Linked DNA regions of Homo sapiens: region 2 is linked to region 1. Evidence: promoter capture Hi-C in human tissues and cell types (Jung and others, 2019). All regions are on one chromosome and are shown on one strand. The core of a region is centred on a gene start or on the middle of the fragment in contact, and the rest is flanking DNA. Distances in the headings are between cores, read along the strand shown. Region 1 holds the start of EMC4 (ER membrane protein complex subunit 4). Region 2 overlaps KATNBL1 (katanin regulatory subunit B1 like 1).

Region 1 (4,467 bases), core at 1,802-4,301:
GTAATCATCACTTTGCGTGGGCGAGGTGGGTGGATCACCTGAGGTCAGGAGTTTGAGACTAGCCTGGCCAACACAGTGAAACCCCATTTCTACTAAAAATACAAAAATGAACAGGGCGTGGTGGCGGGCACCTGTAATCCCAGCTACTCAGGAGGCTGAGACAGGAAAATTGCTTGAACCTGGGAGGCAGAGGATGCAGTGAGCCAAGATCGTGCCACTGCACTTCAGCCTCGGTGACAGAGTGAGACTCTGTCTCAAAAAAAAAAAAGAAAAGTGTAATAAGATTATCTTGAAAATTAGACAAAATTGCGTGAAAATTATTGCCCCAATAGAATGTATATCCATTTTTATGTTTTATTTTGCACAAGTGTAGTTATAGTACATTCACATCTTGGTGTTTGTTTACTTTCAATTTAATTTACTCACATTCGCTAAACATTTATTCAGTACTTTCTATGTTCTAGGCAACAGGCTCAAAGATAATATATAGCTTCTGACCTGGGGGGATTTAGGGTTGCCTATAGAGGGGTAGAAATAAGTGCTCAGGGGACTTTAACAAACAAAATGCAATGTGGTAAGTGCTATTATGCAGCATATAATGCAACAAAGAAGAATGCCCAATAGGGTCAGAAGCTTGAGATAAATATAAGGTTCATGAGACAGAACGTGGTAAAGACAAAAAGTAGAAAGGAGCAGAAACACAATCTATAGTTAGGTCTTCCTACAATCAGATAGATACACATTTTAGGATGGATTGGAGAGGCAAAAGACTTCCATTTCTGCCTTGTTTAAGTAGTCTGCTATGAACACATATTTTTAAAATCAGAAAATAAAGTGGAGGTGGCAATCTTCAGCCTCTCTTACATCATCATCATCTTCAAGAGTCCCAACTTTTTTGTTGGCCAAGGAAGCCTTTTTCAACCTTACCTCCCACAGCATCTCCTTCCCCCTAACTCCAGCCATATCGAATAACTTGGAGTCAAAGAAATACAAATTAAAAAATAATACAGTACCATTTCAAACTATTAAAAAAATTATAGACTGTGAAATGTAAATGGTGCCATTTTTCCTAGTGGACATTTTAATTTTTTTTGTTGTTGTTTGCAGAGGCAAGGTCTCACTATGTTGCCTAGGCTGGTCTTGAACTTCTGAGCTAAAGCAATCCTCCTGCCTCAGCCTCCCAAAGTTCTGGGATGACAGGTGTGAGCCACCACGCCTGGCTCCTGTGGGCATTTAAAATGAAAATTCTTTAAAAATGTGCATACTCTTTGATCCAGCAACTCCAATTTCACTTCTAGGACTATAACTTTAGGAAATAAGAAAAGACATACAGATATGTTCACAGCAACACTGGTTATAAAAGGAAGGAAAACAGGAAACAATTTAAATGTCCAATAATAGGCTATATTATGAAAAAGGTATACCATACAAAACCCAATCACTTTAAAGAATGACATACATTATTTAATGACACGTCATTAAAAACACATCAATGGTGTTATTTGGTAATGATGTGATACATCATTAAAAACACCACATAACCTAGCACTTTGGGAGGCCGAGGCAGGCAGATCACCTGAGGTCGGGAGTTCGAAACCAGCCTGACCAACACGGTGAAATCCCATCTCTACTAAAAATACAAAATTAGCTGGACGTGGTGGCGTGCGCCTGTAATCCCTGGTACTCGGGAGGCTGAGGCAGGAGAATTGCTTGAACCCGGGAGACGGAGGTTGCAGTGAGCCGAGATAGTGCCATTGCACTCCAGCCTGGGCAACAAAAGCAAAACTCCGTCTCGAACAAAAACACAAACAAACCAAACACCAGATATGTGGTGGGCACTAATCTCACAAGCCTTGAAAGTAGGTAGATTATCCAACTTTTACATGAAGAGGCTGAAACAAATTCAACTTGCCCAAGGTCATACAATTATTAAGTGGTGAAACCAGGATTCAAAAGGAGGCCATCTGCTGGGTGCAGTGGCCCATGCCTTTGTAATCTCAACATTTTGGGAGGCCAAGGCAGGAGAATCACTTGAACCCAAGAGTTTGAGAGCAGCCTGAGCAACATAGCGAAACCCTGTCAAAACAAAACAAAACAAAACAAAACAAGACTGGGGCGTGGTGGCGCGCCCTGTGGTCCTAGCTCCTCGGAACGCTCAGGTTGGAAGGAACGCTCAGGTGGGAAGATCGCTTGAGCCGGGGAAGTCGAGGCTGCAGTGAGCCGTGATAGCGCCACTGCACTACAGCCTCGGCAACGGAGTGAAACCCTGTCTCAAAAAACAAACCCAAAACAAACAACAACAAACGCAGGCTAACTGAATACCGAGCCCATGTCCCCTTCCATGCCCACAATGCTGCCTTGCCTTTGTGCAGAATGTGGTTAGAACTGTTTACCTCGCAAGGTTACTGTGCAAGTGAAATGAAATAAACACATGACACAGTGGACATTCAATACTCAGAAACTACTAAGTAACTCGCTCAAGGTCAAGCTAGGATTTAAACCCAGGATTTGAATCTTTTGTTCCAGGGAGCGCGTAGGAGGTTAAGAAGCTTTTCTTGGCTTCCTTTTTTTTTTTTTTGAGACAGAGTTTCGCTCTTGCTGCCCAGGCTGGCGTGCAATCGCTCGGTCTCAGTTCACTGCAACCTCCGGCTCCCGGATCCAAGCGATTCTCCTGCCTCAGCCTCCTAAGTAGCTGGGATTACAGGCGCCCGCCACTAAGCCCGGCTAATATTTTGTATTTTTAGTAGAGACGGGGTTTCACCATGTTAGCCAGGCTGGTCTCGAACTCCTGACTTCAGGTGATCCGCCCACCAATTCTTAACGCTGAGTCAGTATGGGCTTTCCTTCAGCCCCATAAAGTGCACCTCAGAGGTCAGGGAACACATAACAAGGACATTCAAAAGGGGAGCGCGCGGAAGTGGCTTTAGGAAGCACTAAGTCTTGCCTGGTTTTTTTTCCTCCCTGCTTTTCTAAATCCAAACCCGGACTCCTCAACCCACAGCACCACCAATTTCCAGGGCGGAAATGACGTCGTATTCACGCGCCGGAAGTGCATTTGCAGAGTGAGACAAAGCGGAGAACGCTGGTGGGCCTGTTGTGGAGTACGCTTTGGACTGAGAAGCATCGAGGCTATAGGACGCAGCTGTTGCCATGACGGCCCAGGGGGGCCTGGTGGCTAACCGAGGCCGGCGCTTCAAGTGGGCCATTGAGCTAAGCGGGCCTGGAGGAGGCAGCAGGTGAGGCACCTGGGCAAGCTGTACATCACTGTTCATCCCAGAACTGCACCAGAGTAATGAGACCTGAGCCCTCAGGCATAACTCTGAAAAAGATGGGTGGCACACAGACATCACCTGGGGAGGTAGCGGCTTTTCTGCCGTGGAAGTTTCTCTGCTCAAACAATGCTTACATCAGTCCTCCTGATAAGTCAAAGGACTGAGGAACATACGAGGGGGCTTGGTCTAATCTGAGTAGGTGCATCTGAAGATCTTTATTCCTATGATTGGTAGATCAGGAAATGTGGGATAAGAAGTATCGGAGGTTGCAGCTTTAGTTTCTTGGTTTGGTTTTTTAGGGGTCGAAGTGACCGGGGCAGTGGCCAGGGAGACTCGCTCTACCCAGTCGGTTACTTGGACAAGCAAGTGCCTGATACCAGCGTGCAAGAGACAGACCGGATCCTGGTGGAGAAGGTACAGAGGTATAGATGTTACCGTAGCCCATGGGCCAGTCCTGAGTTACACACTCATCCTCTTCTCCTAGGTGGAGTTAACGTAGATAGCTCTTATCCTGAAGATTTGGAAACTAAACTGCTTGAGGCTGGTATTTCGGTATTTTATATATCAGCTACAAAAGTGCTTAATAATTTGAAAAATAGAAGATGTTTGGAACATAAGGTATAAGAAAGTAGGTTGAAAACTATCTTTTGGTGGCAACATCTTCCAGTTGAAGTGATCCTTTTTCTACTCTGGTTCCCTTACACCACATATCCAACTGTCAGGATACTCTGTTGGCTTTACCTACTACTTTTTCCTGTGTTCACCTCTCATCCTAATCCAAGCCACCATCCTTCATCTAGATTTCTGCAGTAGCCCGGCTAATTTTTGTATTTTTAGTACAGACAGGGTATCACCATGTTTGCCAGGCTGGTCTTGAACTCCTGACCTCAGGTGATCCATCCGCCTTGGCCTTCCAAAGTGCTGGGATTGCAGGCATGAGCCACCGCGCTCGGCCCGGGGCTATTTATATTTCTAATTTCTCCTGTCATTTTGTTACATTTTTTCTAGAAACTTATCCATTTCCTAAAATTTCAAATGTATTGATATAAAGTTGTTCATAATATGATCACTTCCATATATGCAAGATCTGTGATGTTCATTTTTTCATTCCTGATATTGAATATTTTGTCTCCTCTCCTTTCTTCATCAGGCTCACCAGTATTGATTTTTTAAAAATTATTTTCATTTATTTTTA
Region 2 (4,498 bases), core at 785-3,284, 55 kb before region 1:
CAACCCCAAGACACTTAATTGTCAGACTCACTAAGGTTGAAATGAAGGGAAAAATGTTAAGGGCAGCCAGAGAGAAAGGTCAGGTTACCCACAAAGGGAAGACTAACAGCGCATTTCTCGGCAGAAACCCTACAAGCCAGAAGAGAGTGGGGGCCAATATTCAACATTCTGAAAGAAAAGAATTTTCAACCCAGAATTTCATATCCAGCCAAACTAAGCTTCATAAGTGAAGGAGAAATAAAATCCTTTACAGACAAGCAAATACCAAGAGATTTTGTCACCACCAAGCCTGCCTTACAAGAGCTCCTGAAGGAAGCACTAAACATGGTTACGAACAACCAGTACCAGCCACTGCAAAAATATGCCAAATTGTAAAGACCATCGATGCTATGAAGAAACTGCATCAATTAACAGGTGAAATAACTAGCTAGCATCATAATGACAGGATCAAATTCATACATAACAGCATTAACCTTAAATGTAAATGGGCTAAATGCCCCAATTAAAAGATACAGACTGGCAAATTGGATAAAGAGTCAAGACCTATCGGTGTGCTGTATTCAGGAGACCCATCTCACGTGCAAAGATACACACAGGTTCAAAATAAAGGGATGGAGGAAGATCTTCCAAGTAAATGGAAAGCAAAAAAAAAGCAGGGTTTGCAGTCCTGGTCTCTTATAAACAGACTTTAAGCCAACAAAGATCAAAAGAGACAAAGAAGACCATTATATAATGGTAAAGGAATCAATTCAACAAGAAGAGCTAACTATCTTAAATATATATGCACCCAATACAGGACCACCCAGATTCATAAAGCAAGTCCTTGGAGACCTACAAAGAGACTTAGACTCCCACACAATAACAATGGGAAACTTCAACACTCCACTGTCAATATTAGACAGATCAGTGAGACAGAAGGTTAACAAGGATGCCCAGGATTTGAACTCAGCTCTGCACCAAGCTGACCTAACAGACATCTACAGAACTCTTCACCCCAAATCAACAGAATATACATTCTTCTCAGCACCACATCGCACTTATTCCAAAATTGACCACATAGTTGGAAGTAAAGCACTCCTCAGGAAATGTAAAAGAACAGAAATCACAGCAAACTGCCTCTCAGACCACAGTGCAATCAAATTAGACCTCAGGATTAAGAAACTCACTCAAAACCATACAACTACTTGGAAACTGAACAACCTGCTCCTGAATGACTACTGGGTAAATAATGAAAGAAGGCAGAAATAAAGATGTTTTTTGAAACCAATGAGAACAAAGACACAACGAACCAGAATCTCTGGGACACATTTAAAGCAGTGTGTAGCCGGAAATTTATGGCATTAAATGCCCCCAAGAGAAAGCAGGAAAGATCTACAATCGACATGCTAAAATCACAATCAAAAGAACTAGAGAAGCAAGAGCAAACAAATTCAAAAGGTAGCAGAAGGCAAGAAATAACTAAGATCAGAGCAGAACTGAAGGAGATAGAGACACAAAAACCCTTCAAAAAAAATCAATGAATCCAGGAGCTGGTTTTTTGAAAAGATCAGCAAAATTGATAGACTGCTAGCAAGACTAATAAAGAAGAAAACAGAGAAGAATCAAATAGATGCAATAAAAATTGATAAAGGGGATATCACCACTGATGCCCCAGAAATACAAACTGCCATCAGAGAATACTATAAACACCTCTATGTAAATAAACTAGAAAATCTAGAAGAAATGGATAAATTCCTGGATACGTACACCCTCCCAAGACTAAACCAGGAAGAAGTTCAATTGCTGAATAGACCAATAACAGGCTCTGAAATTGAGGCAATAATTAATAGCCTACCAACCAAAAAAAGTCCAGGACCAAACAGATTCACAGCCGAATTCTACCAGAAGCACAAAGAGGAGCTGGTACCATTCCTTCTGAAACTATTCCATCAATAGAAAAAGAGGGAATCCTCCCTAACTCATTTTATGAGGCCAGCATCATCCTGATACCAAAGCCTGGCAGAGACACAACAAAAAAAGAGAATTTTAGACCAATATCCCTGATGAACACTGATGCGAAAATCTTCAATAAAATACTGGCAAACCGAATCCAGCAGCACATCAAAACCTTATCCACCACGATCAAGTCGGCTTCATCCCTGGGATGCAAGGCTGGTTCAACAGATGCAAATCAGTAAACGTAATCCATCGCATAAACAGAACCAACAACAAAAACCACATGATTATCTCAATAGATGCAGAAAAGGCCTTTGACAACATTCAACAGCCCTTCATGCTAAAAACTCTCAATAAACTAGGTACTGAAGAATCATATCTCAAAATAATAAGAGCTATTTATGACAATCCCACAGCCAATCTCATACTGAATGGGCAAAAACTGGAAGCATTCCCTTTGAAAACTGGCACAAGACACGGATGCCCTCTCTCACCACTCCTATTCAACACAGTGTTGGAAGTTCTGGCCAGGGCAATCAGGCAAGAGAAAGAAATAAAGGGTATTCAATTAGGAAAAGAGGAAGTCAAATTGTCCCTGTTTGCAGATGACATGATTGTATATTTAGAAAACCCCATCATCTCAGCCCAAAATCTCCTTAAGCTGATAGGCAACTTCAGCAAAGTCTCAGGACACAAAATCAATGTGCAAAAATCAAAAGCATTCCTATATACCAATAACAGACAAACAGAGCCAAATCATGAGTGAACTCCCATTCACAATTGCTACAAAGAGAATAAAATACCTAGGAATCCAACTTACAAGGGATGTGAAGGACCTCTTCAAGGAGAACTACAAACCACTGCTCAATGAAATGAAAGAGGACACAAACAAATGGAAGAACATTCCATGCTCATGGATAGGAAGAATCAATATCGTGAAAATGGCCATACTGCCCAAGGTAATTTATAGATTCAACGTCATCCCCATCAAGCTACCAATGACTTTCTTGGAAGAATTGGAAAAAACTACTTTAAAGTTCATATGGAACCAAAAAAGAGCCTGCATTGCCAAGACAATCCTAAGCAAAAAGAACAAAGCTGGAGGCATCATGCTACCTGACTTCAAACTATACTACAAGGCTACAGTAACGAAAACAGCATGGTACTGGTACCAAAACAGATATATAGACCAATGGAACAGAACAGAGACCTCAGAAATAACACCACACATCTACAACCATCTGATCTTTGACAAACCTGACAACAAGCAATGGGGAAAGGATTCCCTATTTCATAAACGGTGCTGGGAAAACTGGCTAGCCATATGTAGAAAGCTGAAACTGGATCCCTTCCTTACACCTTATACAACAATTAATTCAAGATGGATTAAAGACTTAAATCTTAGATGCCAAATCATAAAAACCCTAGAAGAAAACCTAGACAATACCATTCAGGACACAGACATCGGCAAGGACTTCATGACTAAAACACCAAAAGCAATGGCAACAAAAGCCAAAATAGACAAATGGGATCTAATTAAACTAAAGAGCTTCTGCACAGCAAAAGAAACTACCATCAGAGTGAACAGGCAGCCTATAGAACGGGAGAAAATTTTTGCAATCTACCCATCTGACAAAGGGCTAATATCCAAAATCTACAAAGAACTTAAACAAATTGTCAAGAAAAAAACAAACAACCCAATCAAAACGTGGGCAAAGGATATGAACAGACACATCTCAAAAGAAGACATTTATGCAGCCAACAGACATATGAAAAAATGCTCATCATCACTGGTCATCAGAGAAATGCAAATCAAAACCACAATGAGATACCGTCTCATGCCAGTTAGAATGGTGATCATTAAAAAGTCAGGCAACAACAGATGCTGGAGAGGATGTGGAGAAACAAGAACACTTTTACACTGTTGGTGGGAATGTAAATTGGTTCAACCATTGTGGAAGACAGTGTGGTGATTCCTCAAGGATCTAGAACTAGAAATACCATTTGGCCCAGTGATCCCATTACTGGGTATATACCCAAAGGATTATAAATCATGCTACTATAAAGACACATGAACATGTATGTTTATTGCAGCACTATTCACAGTAGCAAAGACTTGGAACCAACGCAAATGTCCATCAATGATAAACTGGATTAAGAAAATGTGGCACATATATATCATGGAATACTACGCAGCCATAAAAAAGGATGAGTTCACGTCCTTAACAGGGATATGAATGAAGCTGGAAACGATCATTTTCAGCAAACTATCACAAGGGCAGAAAACCAAACACCATATGTTCTCACTCACAGGTGGGAACTGAACAATGAGAACACTTGGACACAGGGCGGGGAACATCACACACCAGGGCCTGTCATGGGGTGGGGGGTGGGGGAGGGACAGCATTAGAAATACCTAATGTAAATGACAAGCTGACAGGTGCAGCAAACCAACATGGCACATGTATACCTATGTAACAAACCTGCATGTTGTGCACATGTACCCTGGCACTTAAAGAATAAAAAATAAATAAAGAAATAAAAGAAGTGGAGATAAAGGTAA

Evidence for each region. Contacts are between HindIII fragments. The study calls those that stand out against the background at their distance.
Region 2: a fragment that was not itself captured here is called in contact with the fragment with the promoter of EMC4 in region 1 in 1 of the 25 tissues and cell types used here (stomach).

What each region holds. Positions count from the first base shown.
Region 1 is chr15:34,221,965-34,226,431 of GRCh38, forward strand. It overlaps EMC4 (ER membrane protein complex subunit 4), which reads left to right and starts at 3,052. Exons shown (of 5, transcript NM_016454.4): 1 at 3,052-3,236; 2 at 3,572-3,686. The coding sequence starts at 3,151. RefSeq lists an enhancer at 3,366-3,415. The HindIII fragment of the contact is 15,250 bases long and covers 1,592-4,467 here.
Region 2 is chr15:34,167,623-34,172,120 of GRCh38, forward strand. The region is part of intron 1 of KATNBL1 (katanin regulatory subunit B1 like 1); the gene reads right to left. Among named protein-coding and RNA genes, the nearest start is that of KATNBL1, 40 kb to the right of the region's middle. The HindIII fragment of the contact is 5,274 bases long and covers 1-4,498 here.